Linked DNA regions of Homo sapiens: region 2 is linked to region 1. Evidence: promoter capture Hi-C in human tissues and cell types (Jung and others, 2019). All regions are on one chromosome and are shown on one strand. The core of a region is centred on a gene start or on the middle of the fragment in contact, and the rest is flanking DNA. Distances in the headings are between cores, read along the strand shown. Region 1 holds the start of SIK1 (salt inducible kinase 1). Region 2 holds the start of LINC01679 (long intergenic non-protein coding RNA 1679).

What was found. The method cuts DNA at HindIII sites, captures the fragments that hold promoters and counts their contacts. A contact is called where the count stands out against the background at its distance.
Region 2: a fragment that was not itself captured here is called in contact with the fragment with the promoter of SIK1 in region 1 in 4 of the 25 tissues and cell types used here (H1 embryonic stem cells, IMR-90 fibroblasts, hippocampus and 1 more).

The regions. Positions count from the first base shown.
Region 1 is chr21:43,425,881-43,432,760 of GRCh38, reverse strand. It overlaps SIK1 (salt inducible kinase 1), which reads left to right and starts at 5,630. Exons shown (of 14, transcript NM_173354.5): 1 at 5,630-5,751; 2 at 6,569-6,738. The coding sequence starts at 6,583. It overlaps LOC124905029 (a long non-coding RNA gene), which reads right to left and starts at 3,177. Exons shown (of 3, transcript XR_007067891.1): 1 at 1-3,177. RefSeq lists a silencer at 1,738-2,032. The HindIII fragment of the contact is 13,239 bases long and covers 1-6,880 here.
Region 2 is chr21:43,357,628-43,364,507 of GRCh38, reverse strand. LINC01679 (long intergenic non-protein coding RNA 1679) reads left to right here and starts at 2,159. Exons shown (of 2, transcript NR_131902.1): 1 at 2,159-3,616; 2 at 5,022-6,453. RefSeq lists enhancers at 364-903, 2,750-2,899, 3,683-4,239, 4,240-4,797 and a silencer at 1,920-2,069. The HindIII fragment of the contact is 6,310 bases long and covers 897-6,880 here.

The sequences.
Region 1 (6,880 bases), core at 4,381-6,880:
GGCTCTCAGACAGCCAGGCTGTCTTAAAACAAGGCTCCTGAAATGTGGAGAAATGGCTCATCGAGTGCCAAATGTCGGCATAGGGCCGGGGACCACGAGAGGCTGGGGATGGATGAGCCAGGTCAGGTGGGGCCACAGTCTCATGCTGAGCTGTGGTGTCTGTTTCCACGGGGCCTTGAATGGCATGAAAAGGGCCCCCGATGCTGCCGCGCCCCCGATGCCGCCGCGCCCCCGATGCCGCCGCACGGAGCTGTCCAGTCGGGATGCTGAACATTGCCACAGTGGAATTCTAGGCAGACAACTTCAGCTTACGGTTCTGCTTGCCATTTGGTGACCTGGCAAGACACTTCCTAGATAAGGCTGGAAAAGGCAGGACGCCTCATCCTGTTTTAATAAAAAGTGAATAAGAAAACGTCAGCTATGAAGAGCATTTCCGGTGCTTTTTGTTTTCATCTTTACATACTTACTTTCTTGATTTTCTATGGAACCTTTTCTATTAATTTTTATACTTCGAAGAAACCTGCTTTATAAGAGAAGGCCCGGCAGTGGAGGGAGCATTTCATCGTTTTCCCATAGATGCAGCTGAGATGGAGGGAGACCCATCCGGAAGCCGTGGAGAGAGCGTCTCCTCAGCCCGCCCTGAGACGGGGGTCCTCCTCTCTCCCCCATGGTCCGGGCTTGGCTTCTCTGGGCTGTGAGATGCACAAGTGAAACGCTTCAATCTCCAAGGCCAGAGACCTTCCACCCACAGGCCTCACGCTCCTTCCTGCCACCCGCTTCCCATCGCAGCTCCTTGCTCCTCAGCTTGGCTCCAACAGCCCCAAGTCCCTGCCTCCCTTTCCCTGTCATCCTCGCCTGGCCGTGTCAGGCCGTGAAGCCGGGACAGACCACACTGCTCTGTGCACACCCCGGGCAGGCAGGCGCTGGGCAGCAGGTTGCAGATGGATGTGGACGGCGCCAAGGACCCCCACTGGGTCTGTCTTCCCAATCGTGGCCTCTGCTCTTCTTCCCCTCTGCTGAGAGCCTCTGCTCAGCATTCAGAGAGGGAAGGTGTGGGTGGCTGCCTCCTGCCCCATGCCCCCCGCCGGGGCTCCACCTCTTCTCTCTCCTGGAGCAGTTGGTGTTCTCAGGGAAGGTCCTCGCTCAGTCCACGCCTGGCAAATCCCACGGAGAGGCCCGGAAGCAGTTCCCTCCATGGCCACTTTCCTGCCAGCATTCTTTTCTTACTCATCATCTTATGCTGTTACTGTCTCCGCAACTGGAACCAACGGTCCTCGAGAGAAGGTGTCTTGTGTCCCTCCTACTGTGCCCACAACCTTCACGCAGTGCCTGACACACAGCAGGGCCTCTCGAGCCTTTGTGGACATCTGGAGGATGACTCCGAACTCACCCTCGCGTTGCACCGTCTCACCTCTCTCTGGGGACCTGTCCCTTCCCACAGTGAACTTCGAAGCATGTCTGTCTGTCACCATGTTCTGGCACAGTCTGGCCATGCTCACCTGTGTCCACCCGCTGACTCATTGCAGCTGGCACACTTGTTGCAAATGGCAGAAACTCACATTATTTTGCATAAGTAAATAGTAACCAAAAAAAAAAAAGATGGTTTACCATGCTCTACACTAGCAGCCAGCATGTCACCTGGAAACACCGAGACCTGAGCTGACACTCAGACGTCTCCATCTCCCGGGAGCCACGCTCCGTGTGGCCCTGGCAGAGTGCCCAGGATAAAGAGCACGGCCAGCACCTGCTCCAGTCCTGGTCCCCAGTGTCTGCACAAAGCTGCAGCATCCCAGAGGCTTCTGCTCTGCCTCTGGGGACCTTTGCTCCGTTTGCGGATGCGGTTTCCTTCTTCCTACAGAGAGGCAGGTGGTTTACTCCAGCGCTGCCTGCTCAGCACAGGGTGACCTCCTGCCAGGCTGTCCATGGTGCTCTTCCTAAGTGAGCACTCCCCCCCGGGGGAACCCCTGGCTCTGTTTGGGGCCTGGCTGACTCTCGCTGGGGCTGGCCCCTTCCTGCACCCCCCTCCCCCGCCGTCCGACCTCAGCATATGGCTCAGGGACACAGACACCCAAAGGCCTCTTGGGTCCTCAGCCTTGATATCGGCCACAGCCCTGCTTAAATGTCAAGAAAACGCATTGGCCACATGAATAATTCCTCACTAACGGCAGCGACAGAAACCGGAACCAGAAACCCTAGAGGGCTGGAGCGGGGAGGGCCGACTGGCCCGTGAACAGGCACGTTTCTGCTGCTTTGCCGGCCTTCGTGGTCCATTTAAGCAGCCCGTGGAAGGCCTAGCCTGAAAGTGGGTGCTGTCTGAGATGGGGAGGGGCCCTGGGCCCGGTAGGATCCACACAACTGTGGCAGCCACGGAACCACAGGGAGCCAAGTGTAGGAGGTGAAGGAAGCAATGCCCTGGGGGCGGACGCTGGGACTGGGCAGTCTCTGGTTTGACCTGTTCGCGGGGGATTCTTGACTTAACCTGTGGACAACTGGGCCATTCCCTGAGGGTGGAGGGGGCTGGGGGCTTTTCTCCTACCTGCCCTCTTCCCAGGCCAGGGCCGTGGCTTCCTGACCTAGTGCACACATGTCTGTCTGTCAAGCTCTCCAGATACAATGGGGCAAAATGACCAACGTGGCCCCCGGGTCCCTGAGAAGGATGCCGCTGCAGTGGTTAATCTGATTTTCTGGCACCTAAAGCCGCTAGGCTGAAGCCTAAACAAACCAAAACAAAATTTAAAAAGTACAAAACCACCTGAAGCAAAGCCAGGAAGACAGGGAAGGGCCTTAGGCGTCGAAGATGGGAGGGTAGGGTCGGGAAGAGGAACTCGTCTGACTCCTGGCTGCACTGGGAGATTCCTTCCTCACAGAGGGCGGCACTGGGGCCAGCTGGGCACCCATCCCTTTGCAAAAATGCTGCCCCACGCTCCATTCTCTGTGTTTATCAATTGATTTTGAGAGTTTTGTGACATGCCAGTGGCCAGCGTTACAACTATGAATAATAAATGGACCCATTTCCTGTTGGGGTTTCCAGTCTTAAGGCCTAAAAAACAAGATGAACTCCAGAAACACGGCAATCATAAGACAAGCTGAAGAAAGTCCATGTGGAAAGGAAAACTGACTTGCCGTTTTCCACAAATCTGTAATAATATGCAAACCATAATAATAAAGTACCGTTCCTGCAGACTTTGGGAGCATTCCTTCCATTATGTTCAGTGAGGAGCTTCTCCAATCATTTGCTTGTACCATCCTTACACTCACACCATGTGTTTTATTTTTCCTCGTGTTAAAGGCACGGAAGACCAGAAAACAGAAAAGAAATCAAAGCTTCTGAGAGGAAATACAGCCTCGGGGGGTCAAGGACACAAACAACAACAAAAGACATTGGGTAACAGAGACCAGGTTGAAGCACAGACTTAGTTATGAGGGTGCCAGGGGTTCCCCCAGTGGGGAGACGGGACAGCCGTTCCAAGCTTGGCCTTTTCCTCTGTGCTTCCTGCCTTTCTCTGCAGAGCGAGCTCCTTGCCCACGGGCCCAGGGAAGGGAAAACAGGATGGCCATGGTTGGCACAGGGCTGTTCTGGGTTTTGGAAGCTCAGGGCTGGGTCAGGGTGAAAGGTCAAGTGCACCTGAGTTTGGGGACCTGTTCTGCGGAGGCAGTTTTGGCTGCAGTTTTTATTTGGTGCTGATGCAATGTTTCCAAACAGCCAGCCAGGTGTTTGCAAATACCTAAGACCTTTTGGAAGACTCTGGCTAGGGTGGGAGGGGTGGGGAAGCCTGCTTCCTGGATGCGGGGGGCAGTATTTCAAGTCACAGGCTGAGGGACTGAATGGTGAGTGTGATCAGGGGCCTGGTTTCTCCCCCACCCCGCCTTTTATCTTTGTTCTTTTTTGAGACAGGGCCTTGTTCTCTTGCTCAGGCTGGAGTGCAGTGGTGCAATGACAGCTCACTGCAGCCTCAACCTCCCAGGCTCACGCCATCCTCCCACCTCAGGCTCCCAAGTAGCCGGCCCCACAGGCGTGTGCCACCACACCTGGCTATTTTAAAAGTATTTTATAGAGGTGAGGTCTTGCTATGTTAACCAAGCCGGTCTCAAACTCCTGAGCTCAACTGATCCTCCTGCCTCAGCCTCCCAAAGCACTGGGATTACAGGCGGGAGACACGACGTCCAGCCTTGTTTTTGTTTAGTTCTCCTAGGAGCGGATTAACAGGGTGTTGGGACCTCCAAAAGGAAAAAAGGCAGTTGTACACTGTTCAGCTGAAAGGAACTAAAAATATTCCCCCGTATTCTTGGTATATAAACCTGGGACAAAGAAAAACACTCTGAACGATTAAGGAAAACTTTGGGACTCTTCATTTCCTTGAAAGCCTTTGAAAACCAACTGACTCCCAAACAACCCGTGTGTGTGTGTGTGTGTGTGTGTGTGTGTGTGTGTGTGTGGCGATTGGGAAATCTGTGGTCAGACCCTCGGGCGAATGAGGAGAAGCTCATCCTCGTTTCTCCGGGCCCTCCTCCCAGGCGTCCGTCCAGGCAGGAAAGCCTCCCGAGAAGGGTTCCAAGTTTTGTGCCAACTCCCCTGAATTCTCGTTCCCCCTTCTGTGAAGTAGTGTTATTTAACACAAGGAAAACTGACCCTAGGCTCGATCCAGAATCTAACTCCCAAATGGGTCCTCAGGCTTAAAAAATACCTTCGCCCACAGCCTCTGTCTCCCCTGAAGAAAACGTTTTCCGTTCGGATGAGGCATCGGCCACGGGCAAGCAAGTGGTCCCGCGCCCCCGTCCCCTACCCAGGCGGCCGGCCTGGCTCCGTCACCGCCCGCAGCGTCCGCCCGGGGCCCGCGCGGGAAGAGGGTCCCAGCCCCACATGCTGCGGGGGCAGCCCCGGGACGCGCAGACGCCAGCGCCGCTGAGGGCCGGGGCCGGGACCGGCCGCGCGGCGGGGGCTTCCAGAGCGGCCGGTCACGCTTCCTTAGGTTTCAAGTTTCTAACTTGCTGAACATTTCAGATTTTAACAGCAAAAGCGGCTGACGTCCCCGCGGGCAAGCGGCCTCTCGGGGTCTGCAGCGCCCCAGGGCATCCGCGCCGCCAGCCCCACGCGCGAGCCCGCGAGGCCCCCGGGCCCCCGCACGTCCCGAGGCTCTGAGTCTGGACGAACGCAGGCCGCGTGGAGGGGCCGGCGACCCCTGCCCGAGAGCCGTCCCCTCCTGGAGGGAGCGAGCACAAGGCGCCCGCGGGACCCGGCCCGAGTGCCCGAGCGTGGAGGGGCGGGCGCGCCCTCGGCGGTGGGGCCGCCCGCAGTGCCCCCAGCGCCCGGGAGGGGGCGCCCGGCGGAGCGCAGGCGGGCGGGCCTCGGGCGGCGGGCGCCCCTGACGTCACCGGCCCGCGGTCGCCAGGGCAACGGCCTCATCCCGCGCGCGTCAGAGCCGCCAGTCTCTTGGCAACCGCCCGATCTCCCGCTCTCCCTCCGCCCGGCGCTCGGCCGCGCGTCGCTCTGGCGTCAAAGCGACGTCAATGGGCGGCCCCCGCCCGGGCGGCGGGGGCGGGGCAGGGGGCGGGGACTACGGGGGGCGGGCCGGGGCGGGCCGGGGCGGGGCCGGGCGCCGCGTGCGGCGGAGCGCGGCGGCTCCGGGCTGACATGCGGCGCGGCCCCGGAGGCAGCAGCAGCGGCGGCGGCAGCCGGAGCAGTAGGCACCCGAGCAGCGCCAGCGGCCGAGCGGGCGGCTTCCTGGCCTGGGCGCTCCGGTGGCGGCGGAGGTGAGGCGGCGGCAGCGGCGGCAGCGGCGGCAGCGGCGGGCTCCGGGCGGGCGGAGGTGGCCGCCGTGGGGGCTCCGCGCGGGCGCCGGGCCGGGGCTCGGGGTTGCAGCCACCGCGCAGGGTCCCTGGCCTTGCGCGCGCGGGGTTCGCGGGCGGGGTTGGCGGCCTGGCCGCCCTCGGGCTCCCCTTTGTTGGGGGGCCGGGGTAGGAGTGAGTCCGCGGGGCTCAGGGGCTGGGGAGCCGGGGGTCAGGTTGGAGCCGACCGCGGGCGGAGATACCGGGTGTGGGGGGCGGGTCCGCGATCCCCGAGGTGCCTGGGATGTCGGGGGTGGGGACCGGACGGATCGCGGGCGGCGGGGGCAGGGTGTGGGAGCGGGGCAGGGGACGGTCCTGGGATCCGGATCGAGCCGACCTCGGGTGGCAGGGCCAGGTGTGGGAGCGGGTCCGCGCCCAGAGGTGCTAAAGGGGTCGAGGGTGGGGACGGAACCGACAGCGGGCGGCGGGAGGCGAGTGTGGAATCCCGGCTCAGGGGGTCCCGGGATCGGGACGGAACCGGACTCGGGCGGCAGGGGCCTCTATGAGAGCGGGTCCGTGCGCCCCGCGGGGCTCAAGAGGGTCGGGGGTCCGGGTGGAGCGGGCGGCGGGGGCGGGTCCACACCTCCCACGGGGCTGGAGGGGCCCGTGGATAGAGTGGGGGCGACAGGCGTGGGAGCAGGTCCCTGCGTCCCGTGGGGACTGGGGGCTCCGCGGGCACGGATGGAGCCGACCGCGGGCGGCGGGGGCGCTGGTGGGCTCTGAGCTCTGTGCGGCCCCGCAGGTGCGCGCGGAGCCATGGTTATCATGTCGGAGTTCAGCGCGGACCCCGCGGGCCAGGGTCAGGGCCAGCAGAAGCCCCTCCGGGTGGGTTTTTACGACATCGAGCGGACCCTGGGCAAAGGCAACTTCGCGGTGGTGAAGCTGGCGCGGCATCGAGTCACCAAAACGCAGGTGCGTGGGGGCGGTGGGACCCAGCCGGCGGGGCCTCCCCACTGGACCCGGGGCGACCCGACCTTTGGCGGGTGGACCCCATGCAGATTCACTGCTCCAGGCTTGATTGTCGTGGTGGGTAAATAGTAACCGTTTTTAGTTC
Region 2 (6,880 bases), core at 2,802-5,301, 67 kb after region 1:
ACCATGGAGCTGTCCACTCCTAAACGGGGCCTGACAATCACAGGATGGCAGATGCACGTGTGCTTCGCCTCTTTCTGCTGTAAAAATGCCCCTTTGAGTCAGTTTCTAGCCGGTTACACTGTAGTATCAGACACAGGATCTCATGTCCCACCTTCCCCAGGGTTTCCTGCTCGAGCGGCATGTCGGCTGTGCCTCTTCCTTCTGGAACCAGGGTGGAGGTGCAGCCCCTGCCTGTGGGGCATGGTCCTCATGGCCGCTGGAGCAAGCCTGGTGGAGCCCAGCCATGGCTCTGAGGCTTCCACTGGGGCAGGGCTATGTCATGTGCCCCATTTCATCTGCCAAAGCCTCCACGTGGTCCCCGCTGACCATCAGCAGGGCTGGAAAGTCCATCCTCTTACTGGGGGGAGACCAAGAGCCCCGGCCACCACAGCCGGATTGTGCAACCCCATTTTCCCTTAAGAGCAATCAGCCTGTTGAAACTAGAGATGGAATTAGCACCTTAGAGCTAAGGGCAACACAGAAGTGGGGAAGGGTGAACCTTGAGGGTGTGTCCTCAGCGGTGGGTTTGTCTCTCCCAGGCAAGGCGCTCTGCCTGCGGCTCAGCCCGGCTGAACGGGTGCTGGGCCTGTCCCTTCCCAGGGCCCAGCAGCTGAGCTGGAGGACGAAGCCCGGGTGGACGCTCCACACCATGGCCTCCAGGGAGTGTTCCCGACCTGGAGGAGGCAGGTGGGCTCCCCCTTGACCAGGATGCAGATGACCCCCTTGTGCCACCTGCACGATGCGCCCTAAGGGGCAGGGCCACTCCTCGTCTGCCTTCCTCTCCTGCAGGTCACCGGGGTGGCCCTGGTGGAGACTGACCTGGAGGGAGCCAGGCTCCCAGTGCCTCTCTCTGACCCAGCTGCAGGAGGGGCGCCTGGTGGCTTGCGTGCTGTGCCCTTGAGGATCATCTGTAACCAGCACCAGCCCCACCCTGCCCTCCGGACAGGACGCGCGGGCCAGGTTGGCGAGTCTGGAGGGGCTTTCTCAGGCATAGCCACTGTGAGAGCCGAGGTCCCCCACAGCCTGCAGCAGGGGACCTTTTCCCTGAGACCATGGGTACTTGCTGTAGTCCAGCTGGCGGGCCTGAGATCCTGACCCCATGTGCACATGGTCGGCACTATTGCATCCACTGGAAATTTCAAAGTAAAATCAGGACACGTGGGGGCAGGGAAGTGGGCTTGAGCGCTTCGCAGAGAGACCCTGCACCACCTCCCATTTGCTACGCTGGTTTCTTGAATGAGCGGCCCTCATTCATCAGACACCAATCTGCCCACAAACTTCTGACCAGGATCTGAGAATTCAGAGAAACCAGCCCCAAAACCACAGGCCTAGAAGCCTGGAACCCAGAGAGTGATTCCAGGAAATCATGGCAGGTGCACGCTGAGGTCACTTAGGCTGACCACAGCGAAGGTCAACGGCGGCCATCATAAATCAGTTTGCCCAGGACAGGCCCAGTGATGCCTGTGGTCCCAGTGCGTGTATTAACAACCTTCTCCTTTCTTCTCAAGGGGCTCAGATGGGTCGGTAGATTATACGGTCACCCTTGTCATGTCGGATTATGAACAAAATTTCAAGAGCTGCCTCCCTTCAACAAACCCACTGTGCAAAAACCCATCTTCCTAGTCAAGCAAATTAGGAAGAGATTATTCATTTTCCAAAAGACTTTTCCTTTGGCCAGGAAAGAACACCCTTAGTTTGCCAGAAAATCCTGCCAGCCGCCTCCCTGAGTGCATGGACTGCTAGATTCCGTTTTGTAAAATCGAGACAGCGGCTCAGGCGCACATGCAGTGCGTGGAGTGCAGAAGGCCTGGGTACTCCGGAAGCTTCCAGAGACAGCGTGGGGCGGCTGACGTGCGGGGAGACACAGACGTGGAGGACGCCACGGCCGCCTCGCCCCCAGGGCTCCCGGAGCGCGGCTGGCTGAGGAGCCAAGCAGATGGTGCTGCTGAGCGTTTCCTGCCTGGGCGGGAGGAGGTGGGGTTGCCGCCGGCGGGGCCTGTGACTGTGAGTGCGGCTCGCTGAGCAGCTGATGTGGGGGGTAGGGGGGGCGCGGATTACGCCATGTGTGACGGCAGAGGGGGGACAACGTGTCGAGAGACGTGGCCTTGGATGTAAGGAAGGGTCGTGAGAAAATACGCAGGAAGAGATACCCCGTGGACATGTTTCCCTTGGAAAGTGGAGGGAACCCTCTGAGCCGTGATTCCGCCTGAATTAAGCAGTGGCGGGCACTGGCCTGGCAGGCGGCTTCTACTGCCTTGGATTTGCACCTCTAAGGGGTCACAGGGGCCACCCCCGAAACAAGACAAAGTGTGATCATGGACAGGCCCTCGGGGGGCCGGAAGAAGGAACGGCTCCAGTGATGAAAGCTGAACGCCAGCTCTCTCCCCATCGTTCTCCCGGACCAGGAGAGGGCTGCTCGGCAGGGCTAGGTTTAAAAACCTTCCATGCAACTTACGAAGGCATCCACAGTGACTTCTGCTGCTGTGGTACGTTCTGCCCTCCCCTCCTCCCCGCCCCATCCTGTTCTCGGCTACAAGTTATTTATATGTACAGTGTCATCTGAACGTGCACGGGCCTATCCCAGGACATCACACACAAAGAGGCGGCGGTGAACCCAAGCCGCCGGGCCGGCCTGTGGCTCAGTGTGTGTTTCAGAAGTCCCGGCCCCAGGCAGCTCTCCTGAACAGAGCCACTGGAACTCAGGAGGGTCAGGACCACAGCCCAAACAACTGCGACCGAAAACACCCTACAGGGCTTGAGAACTAAAAAATAAGGAGGGATCTGGGCAGCCGAGCTGCCTCCTAAAGAAGCCACGTCATAGAGAAAACTGCTTGCTCTATCCATGAGACGGAGGCGGCCGGGGTGTCCTGCCAGCAGACACGGGTCTGTCCATCACCGGCCACCACGCTGCCTCTGTCCTTCACTCCCATTTAAGGGAAAACGATATCTCTTCATCTTTCTGCCCTGGACATTGGAAATCAGCGGTGAGAACAGTGCTCTTGCTACAAAATGCTCAGGTTCTAGAATGCTCCCATCTTTCCTTCCATTCCACATGGAGTTTATCCAAAGCACAAAGGCCAGTCACGGCACTGACATCCGTGGTGCCCGCTCACCGGGGAGTGGGAAGCACAAGCCTGTCCTCAGAGGACCGTGACTGTGAGCCCGCAGCTGCTTGTGGGTGGGGCCAGCCCGCAGCTCCTCCTGGAGGCCTCGGGCTTCTTGCTGCTGCATTTCTGTGACATGTGGAGGGAGGATCGTTTTGACACCTGCCTGGGAAGTTTCAAAGGAGATGGCCTCTGGGCAGGGGTTTTAAACTGAAGGGCACCACACAGATCCAGATGTGAACTGTGGCTGTTGTTTGCAATTGAAGCAGAGATGCAGAGGATGGAACAGGAGTGCTGGCCATGCTGCTCTATGGCCTTGGCCCAGCCAAGACCTGCAGTCAATGGGGCTACGGGACCCCCGCTACACAGGGACCTGGGAACCACCTTTGCCGCGGTTGACCGCTGGGCCCGCCATGCACCGCCCACACCTGGCTGTGCCTGGAGACTGAGAGCAGGGGGTGACGGTGGGCCTGGTGTGTGGAGTCCCGCAGCGGGAAGGGTGGGAGGGGAGGTGGGAGAGCGCAGTCACCCAGGGGTCCCCATGTGGGCTTGTACAGGCCTGGCCCAATCTGACAGCAACTGGGCAGGCAGAGCGAGCCCCCACTTTATGGGTGAGAAAACCGAGGCACGGAGAGGTGAATGCGCGTGGTATCAATGCCGCTAAGGCAGAAGTGAGGCGGAAAAGCCCGTCCTCGCGAGGGGCGGCCCTGTCTCCAGCTCCCAGGTACCTCCCGCTCATCTGCCCGAGGCTCCTGGGGATGTGGCTCTTGGGTTTCAGGAGGGCCCTGCTCCTCCTGTGGGAACCACGGACACGTGTGTGCCCGCGTGCCCTGAGCTCACACACACACACCATGGCGCATGGGCAGGGAAGCGGCGCTCCTGGCTACCCGGTGAGCATCTTTGCTTTCCTTCTGCTCTAAGTAGGCACCCAAGGAATACACGCGTTCACTCAGAGCCTGATTCATGTGACTGGGATAACACTGCGGGGAAAGGTTCTCACACAGTGGCTGACATGAGGATCCATTACAAGAGCCCAGGGTGGTCACTGCTAAGCATGGGGTTGAGGTGAATGGACCCCCAGCAGCAGCCAGTGACAGGGAGGGTTGGGGTGTGGGTTTAGCCGGGCAGGTGACTCTCTTTTGGGCAGCCAGGGGCTCGGGACGTGTGGACAGCACATGGTGAAGGCAGAGGCTGCGTGCTGTGTGCCTCAGAACCGGTGCCTGTTCCAGGTTAGGAACCAGAAAATCCCCTGCAGGGGCTTCTGCCCGCTCCCTCTTTGAAGTCCTGTTTTCATTTCCCCTGTGACACCAGCCTCTCCAAGCTCTATGGAAGGCTGGCTCTCCTGGCACGGCCTCCCCCGCCACTCTGGGTGCCGGCTCAGGTTCTCTGCAGACCCCAGGTTCTGCTCTCGGGTCTGCACCCAGCGTGATGGCCACCACCCACTCAGGACTCCATGGTGTCAAAAAAGTGCCAAGACCTGTTTCCTGCTTTAAAATACCATGCTGTTGGGAGTTTCTCTGAATCTTCTGTGATTCTGGAGGCTGCCTGATTTTAAAAAAATGTAGAAAATAAAATTAAAAACCATGCTGCAATGTAAAAGCCAGGATAAGCCTCTTGCAGCTGAATTCAGGTCTTGAAAGCTAACAAGTTTTGAGTTTCAGTACTTGCCCCCCAAAATGGTTGCTTATCGTGTGTGTGTGTGTGTGTGTGGTGTGTGTTTACACAGTGAACAACCTGATACCTTTGGCTGAAATGGGCTTTGTGTGGGCGTCGGGCCAGGGGGCTGCTGGGCTCCAATGTCTCCCAGCCCTGACTCCTGGGTGTTGGCCTGCCTCAAGTTTGCATATTCATTGACTGAAATCTATTTTATTTCCTCAGGAAGAGTCTCTCCCTTTTGCAAACGCCAGCCACAGAGGTTTATTTTTCTCCCTGAGAGAAGGAAGAGTGAAGGCTGAGACTGAGACAGAAGGACAGAAGGAGAAGACTTAGAAGCCAGTGAGCCCGGAACCACGAGACGCGCTCTGAGGACACGGGGCCTCGGGGAAACCGGGCACGGGCAGGGGTTGGTCTTGGCTTCCCCGCAACATTGCCGCGAGCTCGGGTGCCGTCTCCACTCGCAGGCTGGCCTGTCCTCTGCAGCCACGAGCTCAGGCACCGTCTCCGTTCATAGGCCAGCCTGTTCTCTGCAGCCTGAGGTCCCTGTGGTGCCAACATCCAGATGCTGAGATAATTCTGCCAGGGTGTTGGCTGATCGGTGATTGGTGGTTGGCTGTTCCGTGAGTTCTGCATTGATCTTGCTGGCTGAGCGTCCAATGCGGAGGGGCAGGTGCTGTTAGGGTCTCCACTCCCATCCCTCTCCCCAGGACTCATCACCCACTGCAACCGTAAGCTGCTAGGGGCTCACAGCCGTGAGTCTTTGGGACGGGTGGTCCCACCTGGCATGTAGCTCAGGCTCCTAGCCCCAGGACCCTGCCGCTGCTCCCCTCCCGCCCACATCTTGGCTTAGCCGTCTTCCCTGGCTGCCAGCCCCTTCCCCTGGTCTTAGTTGGCTTGAGCCACTAAACTGAAATAGCACACCCTGAGGCCTTCAACAGCAGACCTGATTTCTCACCATCTGGAGGCTGGAGGTCCAGGATCCAGGCCCCCAAGGCTGCTTTCTCCCCCACTCCCCCACCCACCTTCCAGGACACGCAGACTCCACCCTCTTGCTGCCCTGTCTCAGGGCTGTCCCTCTGGGCAAGCAGGCCCCTGGCATCCCCGTGTGTCTTCTCCTCCTGTTCTTATAAGGACACCAGTCATACTGGATCTGGGCCCACCCTAGTGACCTCATTTACCTTAATCACCTCTGAAAGACCTTGTCTCAAAAACAGCCACATTCTGGGGCACTGAGGGTTAGGGCTTTAACATGGGAATTTGAGGGATGCAATTCACCCCATAAAACCCAGACCATTCCCCCAGTAAATCACTTTCACAAGAGCTCTTCTCTCAGGCTTTGCTTCTGGGGGATCCCCCTTGAGATGGATCCATCTAGCTTCCTGCTTCTCAAAGAACAGAGGGGAGAGCTCTGGTGCGAAGGGAACGGGTGGCCTCGGGGACCTGCGGATAAGCTGCTGGCACTGCCAGGGGACAGGCTGAGCTGAAAGCCAGGAGGAGGGCGGCGAGGCCCGGGGCCGGACCTCATTCTTCTGAGTGTTATAAAATCTGGCTTTGCTCAGAAACTGCCCCATGTGTGCTTTTGTTAATTGAAGTGCAAAATTTTCTCCAAGTAATAACTGGAGTCGTTTAACAATACAAATAATTTGCACCTTAATTTGGTCGATGGCACAATTGCTAATTCCTAGAGACTCAGAGGAGCAAAGTGATCACGAATTCCAAGAGTGGAAACAAATCCATTCCGCAAATTTCACCCTGGCTTCTTCCTCGCCGGCCTGGGAGCTGCCCCGAGGGTCCTGGAACCTTCAGCTGCTTCCGGGCTCAGCCGGTGTCGTGGGGAGCCAGGTCCTGTGGTGGCTCCCAGCCCCAAAGCTGACTCTGCGTGGGACAACAAACGGTTTAATTAACCTCTCAGCTTTTTCATCTGTGAAGCGGAGCTTGGGATGCTTGCCACCGGACCAGGAGGCCACGAAGACGGATGTTAGAAAACCTCTGTGCCAGTGACGAAAGACATCGAAGCTATAATACCCTGTTAGGCAAAGCAAGAAGATAACTCATACATGCAGGAGACAGTCTCCTTGTGC